2 separate regions of the Homo sapiens genome follow, and region 1 is linked to region 2. Evidence: promoter capture Hi-C in human tissues and cell types (Jung and others, 2019). All regions are on one chromosome and are shown on one strand. Each heading gives the region's core, a stretch centred on a gene start or on the middle of the fragment in contact. The rest is flanking DNA. Distances are from core to core; before and after follow the strand shown. Region 1 overlaps LOC124902720 (a long non-coding RNA gene). Region 2 holds the start of ACER3 (alkaline ceramidase 3).

Region 1 (6,884 bases), core at 4,019-6,518, 52 kb after region 2:
GTGACAGAGCGAGACACTGTCCCAAAAAAAAAAAAAAAATCCTAAACTTACCAAGGTTTTCACTAAAAGTAAAGTTGCAAAGAGTTAACATTGTAACATGTAATCAAGACTACTGAAGAAACTGTTTTACATGCAAGGTGTGTAAGAAGAGTAAAATGTGTTATTGGTAAAAGATTATAAGAAGGCATGGGAATGTGGATTTTTTTTTTTTGCCAAGTGTTAAAGAATTGTTTTAAGTTAAGATAAATCTAAAGGTTTGAACAAGTTGTGGAAGGTTTTTAAAAAATAAATCTTATAAAAAATTCTGTGTGTGAAATATTAATATATGTTCCAAAATTGTATGGGATTTCCAAAATTCTAATATGTCTGAGTATATGCTATCAATCATAATTATGGTTATTATGTTAACTGATTGTAAACCACAGAAATAACTAAATTTCCTTGTATAAAGCTACTAATCCAAGTAGAACAAAAAATTAATTAAATACTAAGAAAATATTTTGTCAGATTTTCATGTTAAACCAGCTGATACTGAAATTGTTTAGATATACAATTTGAATGAACTCCATGGTCTAAGTCAAATTACTTATGATAACCCATCAGTTACCAGTGCTATTCAAATAATTTGAAGAAACAACTGGTATTCAAGAGGATATAAGTCTAATGTTAATTAAGCATGGACTCATGGAGAACCAGGATGACCACCTTGTCCTTCTTGAGTCCTTCAAGGTTTTATTATTAAAAGTTCTGCATTCCACAACTCATCATGGAAAAGATAAAATGATCCAAATTGAATATATTGGTGTGGTGACTTATACATTGCTAAAATAGTTTATAACCAATGTTTGGTCCCATATTTCTGGGAAAACAATCAAAGCTTCAGGTACATTTGGTCACCTGATGGGCCATTTAAACATTTTATAAAGGAATTTCTTTCAATTGTTATTTTCTTTTTTCTTTTTTTTTTTGGGGAGTCTCTCTCTGCCACCCAGACTGGAGTGCAGTGGCATGATCTCAGCTCACTGCAACCTCTGCCTCCCAGGCTCAAGGGATTCTCCTGCCTCAGCCTCCTGAGTAGCTGGGATTACAGGCACGTGCCACCACACCCAGCTAATTTTTGTATTTTTAGTAGAGATGGGGTTTCACCATGTTGGCCAGGCTGGTCTCGAACTCCTGGCCTCAAGTGACTGGCCCACCTCAGCCTCCCAAAGTGTAGGGATTACAGGCATGAGCCACTGCACCCTGCCTCAATTGTTATTTTCAATGCATGTTTTCTGGTTGTATAAAAGCTTTCCGATGCAAGAGGGCTGATGTTATAACAGTAGATTATTATGCTATGGTATATTTTCACCAGGTAAAGAAAGCTTTTTATGGTTTGGATCTTCTGAGAACATCAGAGAAAGACTGTCCTTGCCATCCACACTACAGCAAAATTTTGGGACCTTGAACTTTGGGTTTATAATCTCACAACTGAGAAGGGTCCCTCCACATTCTTGGAACTGTATATCCATTGGAATCCTTAAGGTAAAGCTAACTAGGGAAGTTTCTCCCCAGAATAAGATGGCATACTTGATGTGAACAGCTTTTCCCAGGATCATGAATCAAGACTTCTCAACTATCATGAGATCCTTATCTTTGAATATTTTTTTCCTTGCCTATGCCACTACGAATAATAGAAGTGGAAAAGGGGTCTGTTATGTGCACTTATGGGGTATACTTTTATTTGTGAAGGAGTTTGCAGCTAGTCTTATACATGGATAACCTTGTACTTTGATAGATAAAAGATGGAGGCCCAATGTAGGTGAGAAACCTTAATGGTACATACATTGCCTCACAATCAGTCAGAAACAGAACATTGGTTCACTCCTCTTAATGCACATCATAGGTTAAAGAGAACATTGTCAGGAGGCCTTCACTCTTCTAGAAGGGCATCATTAGTTAGGTCCTTTTCCATGGTTTGGAGTAAAATAAGCAATGATTAGAAATGTATCCCTCAAGATAGGCTCTATAGCAAATTCTACTGTAAAGGCTACAGTTACACAACAGACTTTAAGTTCTCTTGTGAAGGTTATGATCGAATTGGCTGAACAGAGAAGTATCTGTGAAGCTGCTGGCCCTCATGGCCTATGGAAAAAACATTGGGTATTATAGAGATTCAGTTGTAGCAGATTAACGAAGACCCTGCTTAGTTAAGTGAGTAGACTCTTTACGTAGCTCATTCTTTAATCTATTTAATTTTAGGAGGTTTGGTTTATGGGGACCCTGGGTAAGGAGCATACTCCAAACTCTTGGTATTATCCTCCCAATAGTCATGATAATAGTCTCCCTGGTGCACTGTATTCTCTCAGACATTTTAAATATTTGCATGCAGCCATCTCTAGAATGTCAGATGGTCTCTCTTCAACTGGAATGACAAGAGCTGAAAGAAATGTGTGACCATGAGGACACCATAACCTATGAATGATGTTCTGAGACTAGAAACCCAAAATGATGGTAACTGAGAGTGGTGCTAAGGCCGTAAGTTTTGGTCACGTTCTCACCTAGGTGAGAACGTGACCAAAAAGGGGTAATTTTTTTTAAACAAAATTATGGGAGGCCATTGTTTTGAACTGAGCTCATGCACTAGGCCCCAACAGACCAAACCAAACCAAAATGGAGTCGCTCATGTTAAGACTTTAAGGAAACACATAGATCCTAGAACAGATCACAGACCAGGTTTTGTTATTCTCCTGCAAATCTCTATAACAAACATTCCTGACAGCAAAGGTACCCAGCCCCTGAAGTTCCCATTAAATCTTTTAACCAAATTCATTTCCTCTTACTCAGAGACCATCAAGCTTCAGATGATCATGCAACATGGGTTCCAGCCAGTTCCAAGTGAAGAGACCACCCCCGGCCATCAAGGAACTATCCTCCCTCCACTAAACAGAGCAGGGCTAGCGTTCCATGATCCCCAATAGGTAGGGACTATGCCCTAAGCCAGCATAAAGTAGTTAAAGAAGAAAGACCATCCGTTCCTCTGCCTTCTATAAAGATTTATGGGGTCACATCTCTCAGGGGAGAAATAAGGCAGGAGAATATGGTCTGGAGGCAGGGAACCTAAGGCCAATTCATGCTGGACTTCCTAGAAGTGAATCAAATGGAAACACTTCAGCTATGACAGGGAATATCCTCTCCATTTACATAGGGCATACACCGAGTATCCAATGGAAACCTCTAGAGGGTATTTAGACCCCAGGAAATTCTGTAATGGGGCTCTTCAACCCCTATGCTTGGGCCACTCCCACCCTGTGTGGTGTGTACTTTTGTTTTCAATAAATCTCTGCTTTTGTTGCTTCATTCTTTTTCTTTGCTTTGTGCGTTTTGTCCAATTCTCTGTTCAAGATGCCAAGAACCTGCACACCCTCTACCAGTAACACTCCTGCCTCCTGGCCTCCTTCCTGGTGTCTTCCCAGTGACCCACTCTCACCAGGCCAAGGAGCAGGGACAGGGTTCTCCTTTCCTCTCTGTCCTCATTTTTACAGGGAGCGGAGAGCGGACAGTGTTAACAATGCAACTTCCTCACTAGGTTTTTGTGAAGATCAAACATATCTGGGACATCCAGTTGCTTTGAAACATTACATGCCATTCAGGTAGACAGGAATTACTCATTTTATGATTGTTACTTTTAGTTTCTTTTCCTCCATAATTTCTGGCTACACTTTGAATTAAATTGTTTTATCAGCGCCCCCTGCTGAGTGCCAATGAAATAATGACCCAATCCTAACTTGGGATGGATTAGACCTAACATGTAGCGGGCAGAGAAAGCCAAAGGACTGACACTAGCATCGCACCAGTACTGACCAGTCAAAACCGACACGGCGTCATGTCCTGGGATGTGCTCCCTGAACCCCAGCCTCAGGGAGCGGAGGAAGGAACCCCTCAGTGTGCCAGGCCCTGTGACGGGGGCTCCAGCTGATTACCTTGGTAACTCTTTCAGCAGGCTCTGAGCTTGTTAGAAATGGGTTGTAAACAGTGTTCATGTCCCACGCTTCTGTGACGCAGCTTGAACATGGTAGGAATGATTGAATTCAAGGTACCCCAGCTCTCTGCCACCCCAATTTGAGGAGCAAAATACCTTCCCTGCTGACCTACCTTTATGCCTGGGTGCCTCCACATAATCAATTTTTTTGTTTGTTTTTGAGACAGAGTCTCGTTCTGTTGCCCAGGCTGGAGTGCAGTGGCGCGATCTCGGCTTACTGCAAGCTCCGCCTCCCGGGTTCATGCCATTCTCCTGCCTCAGCCTCCCGAGTAGCTGGGACTACAGGCATCCACCACCACACCCGGCTAATTTTTTGTATTTTTAGTAGAGATGGGGTTTCACCGTGTTAGCCAGGATGGTCTTGATCTCCTGACCTTGTGATCTGCCCGCCTCAGCCTCCCAAAGTGCTGGGATTACAGGCGTGAGCCACCGCGCCCGGCCAATTTTTTTTATTTTTATTTTTTATTTTTTGAGATGGAGTCTCCCTCTGTCGCCCAGGCTGGAGTGCAGTGGTGTGATCTCAGCTCACTGCAGCCTCTCTCTGCCTCCTGGGTTCAAGCAATTCTCCTGCCTCAGTCTCCCAAATAGCTGGGATTACAGGCTTGCTATTTTTTTTTGTATTTTTTGTTCTTTTAGTAGAGATGGGGTTTCACCATGTTGGCCAGGCTGCTCTTGAATTCCCGATCTCAAGTGATCCACTGGCCTCGGTCTCCTAAAGTGCTGGGATTACAGGCATGAGCCACAGCACCTGGATGCATAGTCAAATACTTTTAGTTAAAGCTCTGAGGTCCGTGTTAAAAAGCCAAGAACTCAGGAGGGGAATATGCCATGCTCTCATCTGACGTGAGCAGTGGCCACGTGATGTTCTTGGTCTTACCCTGTGCTGAGCGGGCTCTGTGGGGATAGGGAGGAGGCCTGGACAGGAAGGTCAGAGGACCCAGGATTTAAACTGGCTGGGTGACCATGAGTGGGTTACCCAAGGAGGGGAAGAATGCAGACTTGAGCTCTTGGGAGCTTTCTCTGATGAGCTTTTGGATCCCAGGGCAGCTGTCCTTGGCCAAGAGAACAACCAAACAGTTGAGACAAGTCTCTGGTCTGGGCTGAAGCCTGCGTCAAAGTTGTTGGACTAGCACTCTGGGATTCCATTTCTGATTCTGTATGTCTAATCTTTTGCTTCCCATTCTCTGCATTGAGCAGTCTGTTTGTGGGCTCTGGAATCGACAGACTCGTTTTTAAAATGTAGAATCTGTCACTTATCGGCTATGGGACCTTGGGCAAATTACTTAACCTCCCTGAGCTTCCATTTTCTCCTCTGTAAAACAGCTTTATATATAGCGAGAATGAATAAGTCAATACACACAAAGTGTACATCTCAGCGCCTGGCACCGAATAACCTGTCATTTCATCGGCAAGTTTTATTTTTATTTTAAAACAGACCCAAATTCCTACATTTCTTCCTATCTCCACTGCTACCATCAAGTCACTCTCATCTCCTTCCTGGTTTATGGCAAGGACTTCCTAATGGATCTCTCTGCTTCTGCTCTGGCACTCACAGCCAGGGCAATCTTTGTAAAGTGTCCCCAGAGCCTGTGTCACCTCTGTCTAAAGGCCTCTAATTGGCTTCCTGCTGTGACTGGAGTAAAATCCGCAGCACTGACAGTGGTCTATCCAGCCAGCCTCGCTGCCCTCAATTCTCCCATCAAGCCCCGGCCAGCCTCGCGTCCTTCCTGAGTGTGCCAAGCTCACTCACTCCTTGAGGTCTTTGCACCGAGATTTCCTCCCTTGGAAAAGGTTCCTCAGGTCCCCGCAGGGTTGGCTTCCTCCCTTCTTTTAAGTCTCAGCTCAAACGTGAGAGTAGCACCCAACCGCGTTACCTCTGCCGGCACCCCCGTCACCTCTACTGTGCTCCAATTTGCCCTCTTTGTAGCATTCACCATCTCCTCACTTACTTAGATGCCCAGGCACCCATTTACTGTTGGCCCTCCCCGTAGATGACCACCTCCATGACAGCAGGGACCAAGGTGGTCTGTGGTCATGGCTCTTTCCCCAGTACTTGTCTTTGGGTCTGGACACAGGAGACCCTCTAAACTATTTATTGAATTTTATTTTACTTTTTAAAAAATATTTATTTATTTATTTTAGAGACAGGGTCTCACTATGTTGTCCGGGCTGGTCTCGAACTCCTGGACTAAAGCAATTCTCCCATCTCAGCCTCCAGAAGTTCTGGGATTACAGGCATGAGCCACCAGGCCCGGCCTGCTGAATAAACATTATTTTTTAAATTCTATAAAACACCAGGTTGAAAGTTCTTTTATCGGAGGGGAAGATGTGAAAGTGGAGTCCTTGGTGGCTGCTGAAAACCGCTGCTCATCAGACTTCTGCGTCTGAGCTTGCCCTTCGCTTTCCTCTTGTGGGGACCCCTCTAACCCCCGGCCTGTGTATAGAGCGACAAGCCCGGCACAGGGCAGGGAGAAAGGGAGCAATGGGCGGGCGGAGAAAGGAACGGGAGTGTCTAAGGCAGCGCCCTCTGGTGGGCACAAACTCCGTGACAAGTTGGAGACCTGCAACACACTCCGCCCGCAACTCCATTCTTGCAAGTTTTCACCTAGTTTGCCCCTCTTGTCAGATGGGAACTCAAGCTCGTGCCCTGCCTATGCAGTCACTTTTCACCTTGTATTGCAGTCATTCGACTCTCCCATGGGATGGAAAGCCACTGGGGCCAGGGCTGGCTCTAGTCCATCTCTGGATGCCCCATGGCTAGGACTGTGGTGTCTCTGCCAAACACATGGCTTTCACGTGTATGTGGGGACAAATCCTGCACGCTGAGACCCAGGGGCCTACTCCCTGGGCTGCCCTAATCCTT
Region 2 (6,713 bases), core at 802-3,301:
CAGGCATGGGCCACGATGCCCAGCCCAGTTTTTTCTTGGTTCTAAACTAAGAGTCATTATTACCTACATAGACCCATAAAGCTGCAACTAAGGCCAGCCCCTTTTCTCTATTAAATAATTTTTTCCTTCGAAAATATTGAGTTCATTGAACAATGTCTGATTTAACACTTTCAGTGACAGAAAGTCCTCTGTCCCCCAAGTCAACCTTTCCCATATCATTGGTGAGAAGGTTTTTCCTTATATTGAAGCAAACTTTTCCCCATTACAGTTAGTTTCTGCCCATATGCCCTAATTCCAGATTCCAAATAAATTAAAAAAAAATTATTCTATATGATAGCCCATCCAATATTTGAAGACTCTTGAATTCCTCTTTTCCATGTTACACATTTCCAGCGCAGAGTGCATGGTTTTACATCTCTTTCCTCGTGGTCATGGTTCTCTGGACCAGGCATGGGCTTGCCAAAGTGATCTAACAACAAACTGGTAAAGCGCTTCCTTTGCCAACATGTGGGTTCCCAAGTAATTGTATTACAAATGATCCCTTTGCCAATATTTCTCCATGATTATGTAAAAATTATTAATTTAATAGTTGAAGAAAAGTGACTCTTAGCCTAAATCATGGTCATAAGAGAATAGTACTAAAGTCCTGAAAACTGCAAAAAGTGTTCTTTTTTTTTTTTTTTGAAACTTAGCCAATTACCAGAACAGAATAAAGTGGGACCATTTGTCATGATATGCTTGCCTCTTTCCTACAAAGCCATGCACAGATGCCTGAGAACAGGACTCAACAATGAGAAGGTTAGCTAAGAAGAGTTTCACTTCACGTCCTGAGAAGTAGATCCAACTAAAAGAAGGCAGTAATCATTAGCCAAAGGATAGTCTTTGCACTTTGCCAGAAGCAGGTACCTAAAAGAAGGATCAAATATTGTGCTCTCAAAACCTGATTAAATGATAGAAAAAGAAGTGGCAGATTTCTCCTAGCCTGGCAGGAAAAATCGTCTAGGAAAACAGACAGACACCCACATAGGCACACAGAACAAGCCCAACCTGACCAGCAGTGCCTGACAGAGCAGCCGCTAAAGAAGAATGCTTAAATCCTCAGAAGGTGCAGTCGGTGGAAGTAGTGTCCTCAGATGACCCCTAACTCCTAGATAGTTGGATAGGACAGAATGGAGCAGGGACTTGGTCCTCTGTGCTCTTGGGAGCCTGGCAGGGGCAGAAGGTACAGGCTAGGTGCAAGATGCCTTCGACTCCTGGTGCAAGATGACAGTTGAATAATCATACTCAGAGAGCAGATGACCTCTGGTACTTGAAGACATCCTGGGGGATAGGGGTGGGATGGTTCAGATCTCAGACTAGTGAAACTGTTCCCTGGAGGTGAGCAAGGAGGTCTAATATTCCAGTGAAAAGGGAAGGGAAAGACGGTAGAATTCTCACGGATTGGGGGAAAGACGAAGCTAGGAACTGTACCCTTCTGGTGGTGGCAACAGCAGAGCAGGTGTCCTGGGCCCTCATTCCAAGGGGCAGGGTCCTCCACTCTCCCAGCCTGGCCCCACTCCGCTCTCGGGCAGGAATTCCCATTCCCAACCCGGCTCTTCAGGCTTTCCCCCTTAGGTCCAGCAGGGGCTCCCCACTTCCCACTGCTCTTCTGCCCCCCCAATCCTCAGGCCCCCTTCCTCCCTCCCAGACCCCGGTACTCCTCCCTCTACACACTGGACTCCCGGCCCGCTCCTCTCAGCCTCCCGCTGGCCCAGGGCGCCGCATTCCAGCTCCCGGGGCCAGGCCTGGCACCTCCCTTCGCGGCCAGGTTCGCTCTTTGCCTTCCTCACACGGCGTCTCCTCAGCCCGGTGCCCTCTCGCCCCCACTCCCCTCCTCAGGCCACACTCACAGAACTCGGCGATGTACCAGGTCACGGAGTAGTTCTCCTCGCACCAGTCCAGCGTGGAGGTCGTGGGGCCCCAGTAGCCCTCTCGGTCCGCGGCCGGAGCCATCACGCCGCCGCCGCCGCCGCCCAGGCGCTCCGCTCACTGTGCCGGGTTAGGCTGGCGACCAGGCCGGCTCCGGCCCAGCCCGCGCGCTCGCTCGCGCCCCGCCCGGCCCTGCCTCCCCGAGGGGCGGGGCCTGGCGCCGTTACTGACACTGCCCTGACGGAGGCCCCGCCCACCGGCGCCGCTGGGCCGCGGGGCCGGGCCAGGCCCGACCTGGTGTAAGGCCCACTCGGAGGGCGCCGGCTGGCCCCGCCCCTCTTCACCCTTGGGCGGGGCAGGGGCGTGATCCAGGAAGGAGCCGGGGGCCTGGGCTTCCTGGCCGGTGCAGACACGCCAATGGCCGTAGGTTGGGGGTTCCTGACATCCCAGAGGCTATATTCTGTCAGGATGTGCCAGAGCCTCTATTTGTGTGCGTGTGGTTTGATTTAATCGGGGCGGGGGTGGGATGAATACTTCTATCAAGCCCTTGCTTGATTAAACCTGTGCGGCGAAGCGCCTCTATGTCTTCCATTGAGCCACAGGCCTCAAATGGAGCCCCAAAACAGAGTACCCCCAACCAATCCCCGTGATTCTCAGGAAATAAACCGTGATTTTCTGATAAAGGTGTAAGTGTCTCTTCGGTACAAAGGGAAAGGGTGAACAACCCAGGACCGAAAAAAAAAAAGTAGGTTCTGAGATCCTAAAAAAAAAGAATGCTGCTAGCTAGAGCACTAAAGCAAAGTTTCCCTGCTTCGTTTGGGCCTCCAAGCACAGAGGTTTCCACGTTCTAACTATAATTGTGCCCTGCTCTTCAGGCAACCAACAGCCTACCCCTACTTCCAACTTCAAGTCTAATACTCCCAGCCCCCGTCTGGGAGTATCGTAGACGGCAAAACCCCGTGTCTACGAAAAATACAAAAATTAGCTGGGCGCGGTGGCTCAGACGTGTGGTCCCAGCTACTTGAGAAGCTGAGGTGGGAGGATCACTTGAGCCCCCGCGGTGGAGATTGCATGCAGTGAGCTGAGACTGTGCCAATCCAGCCTGGGAGAACAGAGCGAGACCCTGTCTCTAAATAAATAAATAAATAAATAAATAAATAAATAAATAAAAAGTCTAGTACTCCACAGGTCTGCCAGAGAGCTCTTCCTAAAACAGATGCAACCACCCTTGCCCCTAGTGTTCAGCTACACCAAACTCAAACTTTCCCCTCTCCTAGAATGCGCTGGGTCACCTGCCTTTGCTCCCACAGTTCAACTGGGACAGCCTAACTCTCTTCTCCGTTTGACCAACTCCCCACTCTTCTTTTAAAATCCAGCTCTCTGAAGCCATCCCAGATGTTTACACCCTAGAGCTTCCTTGCCCTTTGTTCACATCCTACTGTGCTACATCCTGATCAGAGACCTTGCTTTCCCTTCTTTATGGTCTTAGTATTAGGACTCTGCCTGAATACACAGTAAGAAATGAAGAGTAAAAATGAAGGATGATACAACTGCTATTTTCTAAATAAATAAGTCAGATGTGGTGCAAGTCAAAGGTAAAAGAGAGGACAAGGAGAGATGAAGAGCCCACAGCCTTTCTACAAAATAACCATAGCCAATTAGCAGGAAATAGATGCAGAACTTTTATTTGCTAGGTGCAAAACCTAGGGAAGCAGTGTATCTTTTTTTTTTTTTTTTTTTTTTTTTGAGACAGTCTTGCTCTGTCGGCCAGGCTGGAATGCACTGGCATGATCTCAGCTCACCGCAACTTCCGCCCCCTGGGTTTAAGCGATTCTCCTGTCTCAGCCTCCAGAGTAGCTGGGACTACAGGTGTGCACCACCACGCCCAGCTAATTTTTGTATTTTTAGTAGAGACAGGGTTTCACCTTGTTGGCCAGGCTGGCCTCGATCTCTTGACCTCGTGATTCACCCGCCTCGGCCTCCCAAAGTGCTGGGATTACAGGCGTGAGCCATCGCACCCGGCCGGAAGCAGTGTATTTTAATACGAATAGTAGCCTCTCTGAAATTTTTCTTTTTTGAGACAGAATCTCGATCTGTCGCCCAGGCTGGAGTGCAGTGGTGCCATCTTGGCTCGCTGCAACTTCTGCCTTCCGGGAATCGTGCCTCAGTACCCCCTCATCCCCATAGCTGGGATTACAGGAGGCTGCCACCACACCTGGCTAATTTTTGTATTTTTAATAGAGACGAGATTTCACCATGTTGGCCAGGCCAGTCTTGAACTCCTGACCTTGAGTGATCCACCCTCCTTGGCCTCCGAAAGTCCTGGGATTACAGGCCTGAGTTACACCCTGCCTGGCCTGAAATTTTTATTTTGAATGTCATTGAGCTTCTACTATATACCAGGCCCTGTTTGGCTGCCTGGGTGCTAGGACCACACAGAGGTAAACATGAAAGATCCAAGAAGGCCGTCTCCAGAGAGATAAAAGCCATTGAGGTGTGGGGAAACATCTATTTCTAGTCACTTTATCTCATATTCTAAAACTTCCGTTTTGTTTATGTGTTTATGTAATAATCATGAGCATATATAATTTATAAATGAATGAAATATTTATATATTTATATGCTCAAAATGAATATGCAAAAACTCATACGCAAAAGTGATTTGCCGATGAGGTGTGCAATCAGAACAGTGCAGAGACCACAACAATAGAGTATGATCATTCTTAGCTAGGAGTAAAAAAAAAATTAGGGTGTTGTGGAACCCCCTATGTGAAAATAACCCCTGACCCAGCCAAGTGACTCAAGGCAGGATGAGGCCTTGGCTGAGTCAATACTCTGCACAATGTTCCTCAATAGTGAAAAAGGAAATCTACCGTGACCAGGACGGATTTTAGGAGAGAGAAATTCCCCCATCCGAGAGAAAAGGTGCATTGCAGAAGTTTCACTCAGAAAACACAAAATGAATTTCACAGTTCCTTCAGCAATATCTACCTTCCTTTTTCTTTTTTTCTAAAAAATTTCCCCCCTTGAGCATAAAAGCAATGCCTGGAAATGTAAGGGACCCAGACAAGTCAAAACTATCTCAAAAAAGAAGAACAAAGCTGGAGGACTTATACTTCCTGATTTCAACACTTACTGTAAAACTATAGTAATGAAGACAGTGCAGTACTGGCATGAAGATAGACATGTAGATCAAAGGAATCGAATTGAGAGTCCAGCAATAAACCCTTACATTTATGGTCAATTGATTTTTAACAAGGATGCCAAGACAATTCAATAGGGATTGAATAGTCTTTCAACAAATGGTGCTGGGACAACTGGATATCCACATGCAAAAGAATGAAATTAGAATGCTTCCTGTTACAATAAACAAAATTCAACTCAAAATAGATCATAGACCTAAATGTAAGAGCCAAAACTATACAATTCTTAGAAGTTTACATAAAAATAAATATTTGTAACCTTGGGTAGGCAATGGTTTCTTATATAAAACACCAAAAACACAAGCGACAAAGGGAAAAATAGATAAATTGGACTTCATCAAAATTAAAAACTCCTTTGCTGAAAATGATACCATCAAGAAAGTGAAAAGACAACCCACAGAATGAAAGAAATTATTTGCAAATCATATATCTTATATGAGACTTGTGTCCAGAATATATAAAGAACTTGTAATTCAATAATTAGAAGACAAGTAACTCCCAATAACCCTATTAAAGAATGAGTAAAGGATCTGAATAGACATTTCTCCAAGGAAGATATACAAATGATCAATAAAAACATGAAAAGATGTTCAACATAGCCGGGCGCTGTGGCTCAAGCCTGTAATCCCAGCACTTTGGGAGGCCGAGGCAGGCGGATCATGAGGTCAGGAGATCGAGACCATCCTGGCTAACACAGTGAAACCCCGTCTCTACTAAAAACACAAAAAATTCGCCGGGCGTGGTGGTGGGCACCTGTAGTCCCAGCTACTCGGGAGGCTGAGGCAGGAGAATGGCGTGAACCCAGGAGGCGGAGCTTGCAGTGAGCCGAGATTGCACTGCTGCACTCCAGCCTGGGCGACAGAGCAAGACTACGTCACAAAAAAAAAAACAAAAGAAAAGGAAAAAGAAAAGATGTTCAACATAATTAGCCATTAGAAAAATGCAAATCAAAACCACAGTGAGATGCCGCTTCAGACAACCTAGGATGGCTATAATCAAAAAGACAAATAACAACAAATGTTGGCAAGCATGTGGAGAAAGTGGAACCCTCAAACATCGCTGGTATGTAAAATGGTGCAGCAGCTTTGAGAACTTTTTCAGTTCCTCAGAATGCTAAATGGAGTTATCATATGACCTAAGCAGTTTTACTCCTAGGTATACACCAAGAGAATTAAAAACATATATCCACCAAAAACTTGTACAAGAATGATCATAGCAGTATTATTCACAGTAGCCAAAAAGTGGAAACACACCAAATGTCCATCAACTGATGAATAGATTAATAAGTGTGATATACACATTCAATGAAATATTATTCTGCAATAAAAAGAAATGAAATGAAATACTGGTGCATGCTACAACATGGATGAACCTTGAAAATTTTATGCCATATCAAAGAAGCCAGACACCAAGGGGCACATATTGTGATTCCATTTATAATATATGGAACATCTAGAATAGGCAAATCTGAAGAGATAGAAAGTAAATCAGTGGTTGTCTAAGGCTGAGAAAGGGAGCAGGAACAGGAGGTGACTGTTAATGGGAATAGGGTAAGTTTGGGGGATGATGAAAGTGTTCTAAAATTAGATTGTGGTGATAGTT

The links. Contacts are between HindIII fragments. The study calls those that stand out against the background at their distance.
Region 1: a fragment that was not itself captured here is called in contact with the fragment with the promoter of ACER3 in region 2 in 9 of the 25 tissues and cell types used here (IMR-90 fibroblasts, adrenal gland, aorta and 6 more).

The regions. Positions count from the first base shown.
Region 1 is chr11:76,807,255-76,814,138 of GRCh38, reverse strand. LOC124902720 (a long non-coding RNA gene) reads left to right here. Exons shown (of 3, transcript XR_007062789.1): 3 at 1,355-1,438. Among named protein-coding and RNA genes, the nearest start is that of TSKU, 27 kb to the right of the region's middle. RefSeq lists enhancers at 3,584-3,673, 6,595-6,644, 6,725-6,774. The HindIII fragment of the contact is 6,333 bases long and covers 2,102-6,884 here.
Region 2 is chr11:76,856,256-76,862,968 of GRCh38, reverse strand. ACER3 (alkaline ceramidase 3) reads right to left here and starts at 2,051. Exons shown (of 11, transcript NM_018367.7): 1 at 1,890-2,051. The coding sequence starts at 1,992. RefSeq lists silencers at 1,979-2,238, 2,279-2,378. The HindIII fragment of the contact is 20,791 bases long and covers 1-6,713 here.